Regions from separate parts of the Homo sapiens genome. Here region 2 is linked to region 1. The links are contacts of gene promoters, found by promoter capture Hi-C in human tissues and cell types (Jung and others, 2019). All regions are on one chromosome and are shown on one strand. Each heading gives the region's core, a stretch centred on a gene start or on the middle of the fragment in contact. The rest is flanking DNA. Distances are from core to core; before and after follow the strand shown. Region 1 holds the start of CDHR1 (cadherin related family member 1). Region 2 has its middle 16 kb from the start of GHITM.

The links. Contacts are between HindIII fragments. The study calls those that stand out against the background at their distance.
Region 2: a contact is called between a fragment that was not itself captured here and the fragment with the promoter of CDHR1 in region 1, in 2 of the 25 tissues and cell types used here (H1 embryonic stem cells and liver).

What each region holds. Positions count from the first base shown.
Region 1 is chr10:84,192,728-84,197,517 of GRCh38, reverse strand. CDHR1 (cadherin related family member 1) reads right to left here and starts at 2,981. Exons shown (of 17, transcript NM_033100.4): 1 at 2,703-2,981; 2 at 1,929-2,024; 3 at 868-1,013. The coding sequence starts at 2,757. RefSeq lists silencers at 2,766-2,885, 2,956-3,085. The HindIII fragment of the contact is 10,516 bases long and covers 1-4,790 here.
Region 2 is chr10:84,120,766-84,125,555 of GRCh38, reverse strand. No RefSeq gene overlaps it. Among named protein-coding and RNA genes, the nearest start is that of GHITM, 16 kb to the left of the region's middle. The HindIII fragment of the contact is 6,156 bases long and covers 1-4,790 here.

The DNA of each region.
Region 1 (4,790 bases), core at 1,732-4,231:
AAAATACTCTCCTGCCACAGTGAGGCGAGATGTCGACCTTAGTGTGCTCAAGGTCCCATAAAGACTTTTCCTCTTTCTTTTCCCTTTTCTCCCCTTTTCTCTCCACACCTCTCCACATTCCAGGGCTCTGCAGAGGCTCACATCCATGGTGTCTCAGTGCTCCCAGGATATGGTGAGACCTCAATGGGGAAGGGTATCGGATGTTGCCAGATCCCGCGGGTGCCAGGGAGTGGGGTACTGGCAGCACAGTCAGGCTCCACTGCTGTGTCCCCACAGCAGTCCCTGAGACCTCCCTTTCCTTTCTCTACCCTGTCCTGCAGCTAGTGGAGGCTGTCACGAGCTGGCAGCATCCCCACAGCTGAGGTCCAGTTAGCCACACACCAGGCTGCTATGCGGTCTGAAAAAGCCCATGCCCTGTTGCCTGCAAGTTCTCAAGTGTGTAGAGTGGAGGAGCTCTGCCAAACTCAGACTCACTGCCAACCACCCTTTCCAGCCTTGACCTGCTCTGAGTTCCTGTGCCTCTCCCAGGACAGGCTTGAAAAATCACTTTGTGAGGTTTCTTTCAGAAACCTCAAAGTGCAAACGGATTTATTTTTAATGGAACATGCTTAAAAGATTAGCAGGGCTGGCAGGTGCTCGTTAAAGGAGCCCACTCTTCGCTCTGTGTGAAGGAGGAGCATGAAAGTAAAGCCCACTCTGCTGATGGGAAGTGGCCCAGAGATCTCACAGAGTGGATGTGCCTGGGGTGTGCCCCCTCATCCCCTACTCTGTGGAGAGGTTCTAACCAATGTGCTCCAGGGGAACTTCAGCCCACCGAGGTCTGTCTACAGGCAGTGGCCCCGCAGCACTCCCCACACCTCCCCATACCTCTCTGTCCAGCTCTTCAACCAGGGTGATGTTTCCAAAAGTGGGGTCAACAGAAAAGACGCTTCTAGTGCTGGGGTCAAAGCTGATGTGGTAGGAGATGGGGTCTCCCTCAGGGTCTGTCCCATTCAGGGTGTATACGTGAGAGCCTGGAAGGAAACACAGTGGAGAGACATAGAATCTGAGACCCAACTTTTCCTAAAAGTGGCAGATGCTCAGGACCAACGATTCAGCTGTTTATAAAGTGACTATTCAACTCAGTGCCAAAGGTACTGCCCTGAACTTGGTGCTCATTGCTGGCCTCACCCCTGCTGGCTGCTTCCCTCTTTGTATGTTTATTCTTCACAGCGGGTGGTTGTGATGATCAGCCACTTTCCAGATTGTAATCTATAACACGGGTTACAGAGCAGGTGCAGGTCTGCCGTGCCTAACTGTAGTGCCTATGTTCTGCTCAGCCTGGTAATAACTCCTCTCTCAGGATCCAAGATTGAGGGGCTCCTGGGTACAGGGAAGGGGAAATGGGAGCAGCCATTAAGGCAGGAGGGGTGACCCACAGTGCACCACTGTCCCCGATGCCTGGACCTGGTTCTGCAGGGATTTCTGAGCCAGGTGCCTACTTTGCTCTGCTCTCCCTTTTCCCCGGGTTCCCACTACCCACAAAGTGAGGGAGAAGGAGTGTGAAATCTCCCCTTTCTCCTCCCCTCTCTCTGCATATCTCAGCAAGTTGGATGTTCTTAGGCCGTTTTAAAGCCTAGAGACCTGGGGCTCAGGGAGGTAAATACATTTGTTCAAGGTCACACAGCCATAAGGGGCAGCTGTAGCTGCCTGCCTCGCGGGGCGACCCTGTCTGTGGGGGGGAGCCCTGGTCTCCAGGACTGGCCAGACTTAAGTCGCCATGGCAGCAATGACCTTCTTTCCTGCCATTGCCCAGGGGAATTCGGAGAGCAAACAAGGAGCCCCCGGGCGCGCGCAGCAACTTGGGTGGTGCCTGGGGCACTTTGTGTTCTAAGTCTGCCTGCACCCCTCAGGGAGACCTATCGGGAGCAGGTGCCAGGGCTACTCACCTACAGGGGTGTCCTCTGGGAGGCTGAACAGAGCCATGTTTCCGTTGGTGCTGCCGACCCCGTTGTCGAAGAAGTGCGGGGCGAAGTTGGCCTGAGCTGGAAAAAGAACACAGAACAGACGGACACCCAGGCAAAGGACACCCAGACACCAGGAGGGAGCTTCGCACCAGCGCGGTCCCGCGTCAGGCCCAGCTACTGGGCAGGAGGGCGCTCCGCCTCCCCAACCCAAGTGCACCGAGGGACCCCACTGGGGCGCCGCCCAGAGGATGCCCCTGACCCCCACTCCGCCCCCGGTGGGCTCGGGCTTGTCAGGGACACGTAGCATGTGGGCGCTTAGAACCCAGGTAGCAATCCAACCCCTCCTTCATCAATGGGCAGATTGCACCCGCGCTCGGAGAGGGGCAGTGCCCCAGCCCAGCCAAGGTCAAGCCGCGAGTCAGGGCACTATCTCCTGCCCCACGCAGCATCGGAGCTGCCACCAAGCCTACAGCTCTGGTTCCCAGCAAGCGGAGAGCAGCGGGGGTCCGGGCGCCAAACCCTGGGGCCCTAGGATGCCAGCTCTGGAGAAGCGCCCCGGAGCTCCCCACTACTCCGCTACCCCACTCCCCACTACCGAATGGGCCAGGAAGATGGAAGGACTTCTCCGCTCCCGTCCACCAGCCCGAGTCCCACTCTGGAAGTGGTCCAGGACCATGTCCCTCTGGCCACCTGGGTGACGCCAGCGCCCATCTCCCTCGCCATCCACGCGGCCAGCGCGGCCCAGCGGCCACTCACCCAAGCAGAGGCGCAGCAGCCCCAGGGCCAGGGCGGCCCACCGGCAGCGCCTCATGTCTCCGCCGGCGCGGAGTGTCGCCTGCCGCCGCCGAGACCGGGCGCAGGGGCACGGAGCATGCCCTGGGCCCGCGGGGAGGGCAGAGACCACAATGGGGGTAGCGGCGACTGCAGCCGCGGCGGGAGGGGGCACGGGGCGGGAGCGGCGGGTGGCGTGAGGGCGCTAAGAGGATGACACGGCTCGGATCTGCTCCTGCCGGCCGCCTGACGAGACCAATTAGCGGCGCAGAGCGGAGCGACAGGCTCCCAGCCGCGGGCGGGGGCAGGAGGGCGTGACAAGAGGACTCCCCGCCCGCCACGCCCCCTTTGCCGGCGGCCCCCAGTCCTGGACAGGAGGACACCATGGGGGACAGGAGTGTCTTTCCCCCAAGTTGTCCTGAGGCTTTCCCAGGGTACTTAAGTCCTGGTGGGGCTTGGGCTTCGCAGTTTTCTTTTCTCATCAACTTCCTCTGTGACTTTCAGGGGCTTAGCTGTCTTCTCTGAGCTAAGCATTCCAGAAGAAAAGTTAGTGGAGCGGCCGAGAGGGCCTTGCCTTAGCAGTCTAAGCAGGTTCTATAAGCCGCGTGAGACCAAAGGCAAAGAGAAAGGGTGATGGATGGGCAGCAGATGGTAAGGGGTTATCAGGACCCCCTCTCTGTGATCTCAACCCATTCCTGCCCTGTTCCCCAGGCTGGACCACCTCTCCCAAAGGGTCTGATCTGTGTGGTGGGCAGCAGGGAGGACCCTCAGGTGTCCACCAGGGTGAGAGGCAGTTCTGCTCCCCATTCCCAGTCAGTGCCCAGTCTGGGACCATGAAGGGGCAGCTGACCCACTCTTCAAACCTTCCAAGGAAGAGTGAAGGGCCTGAAGGCAGAGTTAAGCCCCATCTTAGGACAGACTTGCACAGAGCTGGCCAAGATAGATCTGAACTGCCCGAGAGGCACGAGATCTCATTCCTAGAGGGTATTTACACAAAGCAAGGCACTGCTATTGGGGTCCTGGATGCTGATAACTTGAAGACACAGGTAAGCCCAGGAACCTTTTTGGCTGCTGGTAAAGCTCCTTGGGCTTCCTCGTTCTCCTGCTCTGACACTGGAGGGTGCTTGGAAATGCAGCCTGTTTTCCTTTTCCTGGTTGGGCCATTTATGGGGGTACAGGTCACTTCAAGCCCAAGCCAGGCCACTTCCCAGGATGCCCTTGGGTGGATGTGTTCTCAGATAGAGGAGATCCCTCCTCTGTGTGCTCCTGGGAGAGGTCTCCACAGCTGAGGACTCAGCATTCCCCCCCTCCCCCTGCCAGGGGCCTTTGAGGGAACAGAGCACCCCCCATCCCTTGGTCTAGCCCTACATGATCTACTGTGAGCAAGGGTCAGGGATTTGCAGAGAAGAAGGAAGATGAATCAATGGTTTTAGAATGTGCAGCAGTTTTCAGGCCTAATTGGCCGAAACCCTTGTTGAGTCTCCTTAGGCTTGGCTCTTTTGCTGAAAAGACACACTTTAAATTGCACAGATGTTCTGAATCTGCCTCCCAAAGTGCTGGGACAAAGCTAAGGCAAGTATTCTGCAAGTCCCATATAGGGATGTGGAGACTGAGTCTTGCCGTGGATTTCCCAGGAGCCAGAGGCAGAGCCAAGGTTTCCTGGAGTAGATGTCTTGGTGGGCCGAGAAAAGCCAGCTCTCCCTGGGTCCTGTTAGCCCTGCTCCTCACCAATCTAGGGCCGTTGATTTCTCTCTCCTCAGTTCCCTCAGTCAACAGCCATGCACTGGAGAGGGAAGGGGAAGGAGTAGCCTACATGCCATGTGCTGTATGTGTGCTTATGTATATTTGCCCATATTATCTTATTTGACCTGCACTGCTCTCCCAATGTGATTTTCTCTGCTTTGCAGAGGAGGGAGATTTCCTCATTGGCTGTGTACGACCAAGCAAGTGACTTATTCTCTCTGAGGTGCAGAGCTTGGATTCACATACAGTTTGGGTTGGCTCCAAAGAAGGTTCAAACTCTTTTTTTTTTTGAGCTGGAGTCTCACTCGGTCACCCAGGCTGGAGTGCAAT
Region 2 (4,790 bases), core at 1,666-4,165, 72 kb after region 1:
GAGGGGGGGTGAAGTACTCCTTGGTTGGAGTGGTTTAGAGGTTAAAAAGATGCGAGACATCCCCACTGGGGGGAATTGAACCTCACACGAACCTCTAGTAGTAGAAAGGCCAAGAAATTACCAGTGGGGAAATTGAGCCTCACCCCAAAAGGCAAGAAATTTCCAGTGGGGGAAGTTGAGCCTTACCCCAAAAGGCAAGAAATTTCCAGTGGGGGAAGTTGAGCCTCACCCCAAAAGGCAAGAGATTTCCAGTGGGGGAAATTGAGCCTCACCCCAAAAGGTAAGAAATTTCCAGTAAGGGAAATTGAACCTTGAACCTTACCCCAAAACCATCAAGATGGGAAACACCCCAAGCAAGACAGGTAACAAAGGGGATAAAGATGGTAACAAAGATATCACCCCAGGTACCCCCCTAGGTCTCATGCTAAAACACTGGAAGGATAAAGAAAGGACTAAACATAGGAAAAAGCAACAAATGATAAAATATTGCTGTTTTATTTGGACTCAGGGACCCATCCTTAAACCCTCAATCTTTCAGCCAAAGTTTAGGTCGAATGAGGATGTAATGTCTCAGCTTCTAATCTGATATATTAATGATAAAAGTCCAGTGTCTCAAGAAGAACTAGGCTATGCTCTTTGTTGGAGGCAAGGACCTGCCCTCCTTTTTCCCTTAAAAACAAATTGGGAAGAACCCAATCTGGCATCTCAAAATGAAAAGTCAGAGGAGCCAGCTTTCATGCCTAAAGACTCCAGCACATGGGATCCCCTAGGCTACCTTCCCCCACTCAGTGTCCCCAATCTTTCCCCTCAGACAGCCACTGCCACCACAGATCCCATTCCAAATTCTCCCTCTACTCACGTTATCCCTCCTCCTTATAACCCCGACTCTTGGGAATTACCGTTCCACCAGCCTGTTCCCCTCCCAACCTAAAGACTCCTCTCTAAAAGGACTCCAGCGTCAGGTAGAACAATGTAAAAAAGATATTCAGAATTTCCCATTCCCCTCCGTACCTAAGAGGTCAGCCCCGACCCTCTTCCCTTTGAAAGAGGTACTACAAGAAGCGGGGGCCATTGGCTTTGTAAATGCTCCCTTAACCAGTTCAGAAGTCTGGAATTTTAAAAAAGGAGCTTAAACTGCTACTAGATAACCCTTACAGAGTGGCATACCAAACTGACCAATTCTTAGGCCCTCAGTTATACACTTGGGTCAAGTTAATGTCCATCTTAGGCATCCTCTTTTCAGGGAGAAGAAAGGAGTATGATTCATAGGGCCGCTATGGTAGTTTGGGAATGTGAGCACCCTCCCGGTATAAATGTCCCTACCATGGACCAGAAATTCACCTCCCAAGACCCCTGGTGGGACAATGACAATGCAGATCACTGGGAAAATATGCAGGACCTAAGGGAGATAATAATAAAAGGAATTCGGGAATCAGTACCCTGAACCTGAAATCTTTCTAAAGCATTTGATATACAACAGGAAAAGGATGAAGGGCCTATGAGATTCCTAGACAGACTGAGGGAGCAAATGAGGCAATATGCAGGCCTCAATTTGGATGATCCCCTTGGGCAAGGAATATTGAAACTCCAATTTGTCACTAAAAGTTGGCCAGACGTTTCAAAAAAGTTAAAAAAGATAGATAATTGGGAAGACCATCCCCTAAGTGAGCTTCTTAGGGAAGCTCAGAAAGTATACGTGAAAAGGGATGAAGGAAAACAGAAACAAAAGACAAAGCTTGTCTTCCACCTTCCAACAGATGGCTCCAAACCCAGGTACTTCTAGGCAGAGTTTCCAGGGAGCCAGAAACTATAAAGATTCCGAACCAACTTTTAAAGGACTCCAGCCTCCATTAGGAGGACCAAGGTCCTTGTCTACCAGGCCCCCTAAAAAGTATGGGGAAGCAGGGTTAAAGAATCCCAGAACTAAGAGAGAGGAAAGGGAGAGAGAGAGAGGGAAAAGAGAGAGAGGAAAAAGAAAGAGAAAAAGGCAGAAAGAGAGAGGAAGAGACAGAGAGACAAAGAGGGAGTCAAATAGAGAGAGAGAGAAAGACACAGAAAGTCAAAGAGAGAAAGGAAGAGAGAAAGAGAAGTGGTAAAGAGAAAACAATGTACCCTATTCCTTTAAAAGCCTGGGTAAATTTAAAACCTATAATTGATAATTGAAGGTCTTCTCCATGACACTGTAACACTCCAATACCACCTTGTTGTCAGTGTAAACAAGGGCATAGCCCGAAAGCACTGAGGCCACTGACAACCCATAGCCTTCCTATCAAAAATCCTTAACCCAGCAACCCACGGATGGCCCAAATGCATTCAATCTGTAGTGGCATCTGCTTTCCTAGCAGAAGAAAGTAGAAAAATAACTTTTAGAGGAAACTTCATTGTGAGCACACCTCACCAGTTCAGAACTATCCTAAGTCAAAAAAAAAAAAAAAAAAAAAAAGGCAAAAAGGTAGCTTACTAACCCCAAAATCTTAAAGTATGGGGCTATTCTGTTAGAAAAAGATGATTTAACATTAACCACTGATAATTCCCTTAACTCAGCAGGTTTCCTAACTGGGGATCTAAATCTTTTTTTTTTTTTTTGAGACAGAGTCTCACTCTGTCGCCCAGGTTGGAGTGCAGTGGCATCATCTTGGCTCGCTGCAAGCTCCACCTCCTGGGCTCATGCCATTCTTCTGCCTCAGCCTCCCAAGTAGCTGGGACTACAGGCACCCACCACCATGCCCAGCTAATTTTTTATATTTTTAGTAGAGATGGGGTTTCACCGTGTTAGCCAGGATGGTCTTGATCTCCTGACCTCGTGATCCACCCGCCTCGCCTCCCAAAGTGCTGGGATTACAGGCATGAGCCACTGCACCAGGCCCAGGGGATCTAAATCTTAATTAATTACCATACAAAGGTCTGACCAGACCTAGGAGAAACTCCCTTCAGGACAGGACAATAGATGGTTCCTTCCGGGCGATTGAGGGAAAAAGACACAATGGGTATTCAGTGAGTGATAAGGAAATTCTTGTAGAAGCAGAGTTAGGAAAATTGCCTAATAATTGCGCTGCTCAAACGTGCAAGCTGTTTGCACTCATCCAAACCTTAAAGTACTTACAGAATCAGGAAGGAGCCATCTATATCAATACTAAGTTAATATGGACTGAACAAGGTCTTATTAATAGCAAACAATAATTGAAATCCCAAACTTACAAGGTTTTCAACAAAAGTAAAGTTTGCTAAAAGTTAACAGTGTAATATATATTATCCTAACTTCTAATCTTTTGGCCTTAGACAGTATAGTCCACAGAAATGAAGAAAGTTCGCTTTGGAAAAGAATGCTTATCATCTTTGAGAAAAAACAAAAGGTGGGGGGGAGGGGGAGAATGTATGTAAAAAGGAATGTTATATGGTAAATTCTTGTCCTAAAAATAAATTAACTGGTTGTTTAAAAAAAGGGATGTTTGCAACAAGTCAGAAAGTTGGTGCATGTCAAAGAATTGTCTGTAAAAGTCGTGAAAAAATATTATAAAAGGGAATTTATGCAAGAAATGTTGTATAATTTAAAAGTATTTAGGCCTCCTGAATGTAAAACTATTGAAGAAACAGTTTATGTGCAAGGTGTATAAGGAAAGTAAAATATACCTTTGGTAAAAGGATTATAAGGAGGCATAAGAATGTGGATTTTTACCTATGTCAAAAGGTTAAAAAATTTTTGTTTTAAAGGTTTAAGCAAGTTTTGAAAGGTTAATTGTAAAGGAAGTTCTGTGTGTAAACATATTGGCTAAAGTTAAAGAGATATCATCCAGTTTTTCTGTGAACTGGACATTAAAATAAAAGCACAACAGGTTTTTCTTAAAGCACTAACCTGCTCCTTAACACAAATATAAAAGGTTAAAAAGAGTCTATAAAAACTTACCTTATGGTCAGACATTAAAATTAGATAAATATGTCTACAATGTTTTATTACAATTGAGTTTAACATTAATAACACACTAATATAAAGTTGAAATTTAGCTTATCTGGTATAAAAATCATACGGGAACCACTGTCGAATATAAAATGGTGTTTGACTTTTTTTAGTCTAAAAACTAATAAAAATAGGTGCTAAAGGAAATTTCTCAGTAAGAAGGTACCAAGGACTACAAAGTCCACTGCTGATGTCCCCACATTTAAAACAAAAGGTCAGTTTCTTAGAAATTATATACTTGGTTTATCTTCCACTTTCCTTTCCCTCAAAACTAAAAGTCTTTTAGCACAGGTACCACCCCTAGAACTTCCAGTAAACTAACACCAGCTTGAAGATCACGTTCTCATCAAAGGGTGGAAGGAAGGAAAACTTGAGCTAGCCTGGGAAGGACCCTACCTTGTGCTGCTAACTACCGAGACTGCTGTTCATACAGTGAAAAGGGGATGGACTCATCACACCTGAGTCAAGAAAGTGCCACTGCCTCCAGAGTTGTAGGCCATAGTCCCAGGGGAAAACCCTACCAAATTAAAGCTAAGAAAAATTTAACACTTTCATCTATTCTATTACTCTTTCTTCTTTCCTTGCTCTATTGCTGACCATCTAGTTATTAACATAACCAAGTCAATTTCACCTCAAACTATTGCATTTAATGCTTGCCTTGTTATACGCTGTGGGGACTTGCCAGGTCAAAGACAGCTCTCTACTTCAGAAAAGTACCTCTGTCTCTCCTGACTTTCCTCAGACTGGGCATTAGTGAATTAGGATCATTTAATCTGAGGAGATTTCAATAAAGACCCCAGTGTCAACCAGGAGTCTTGTTCCCTGATGTAGTGCT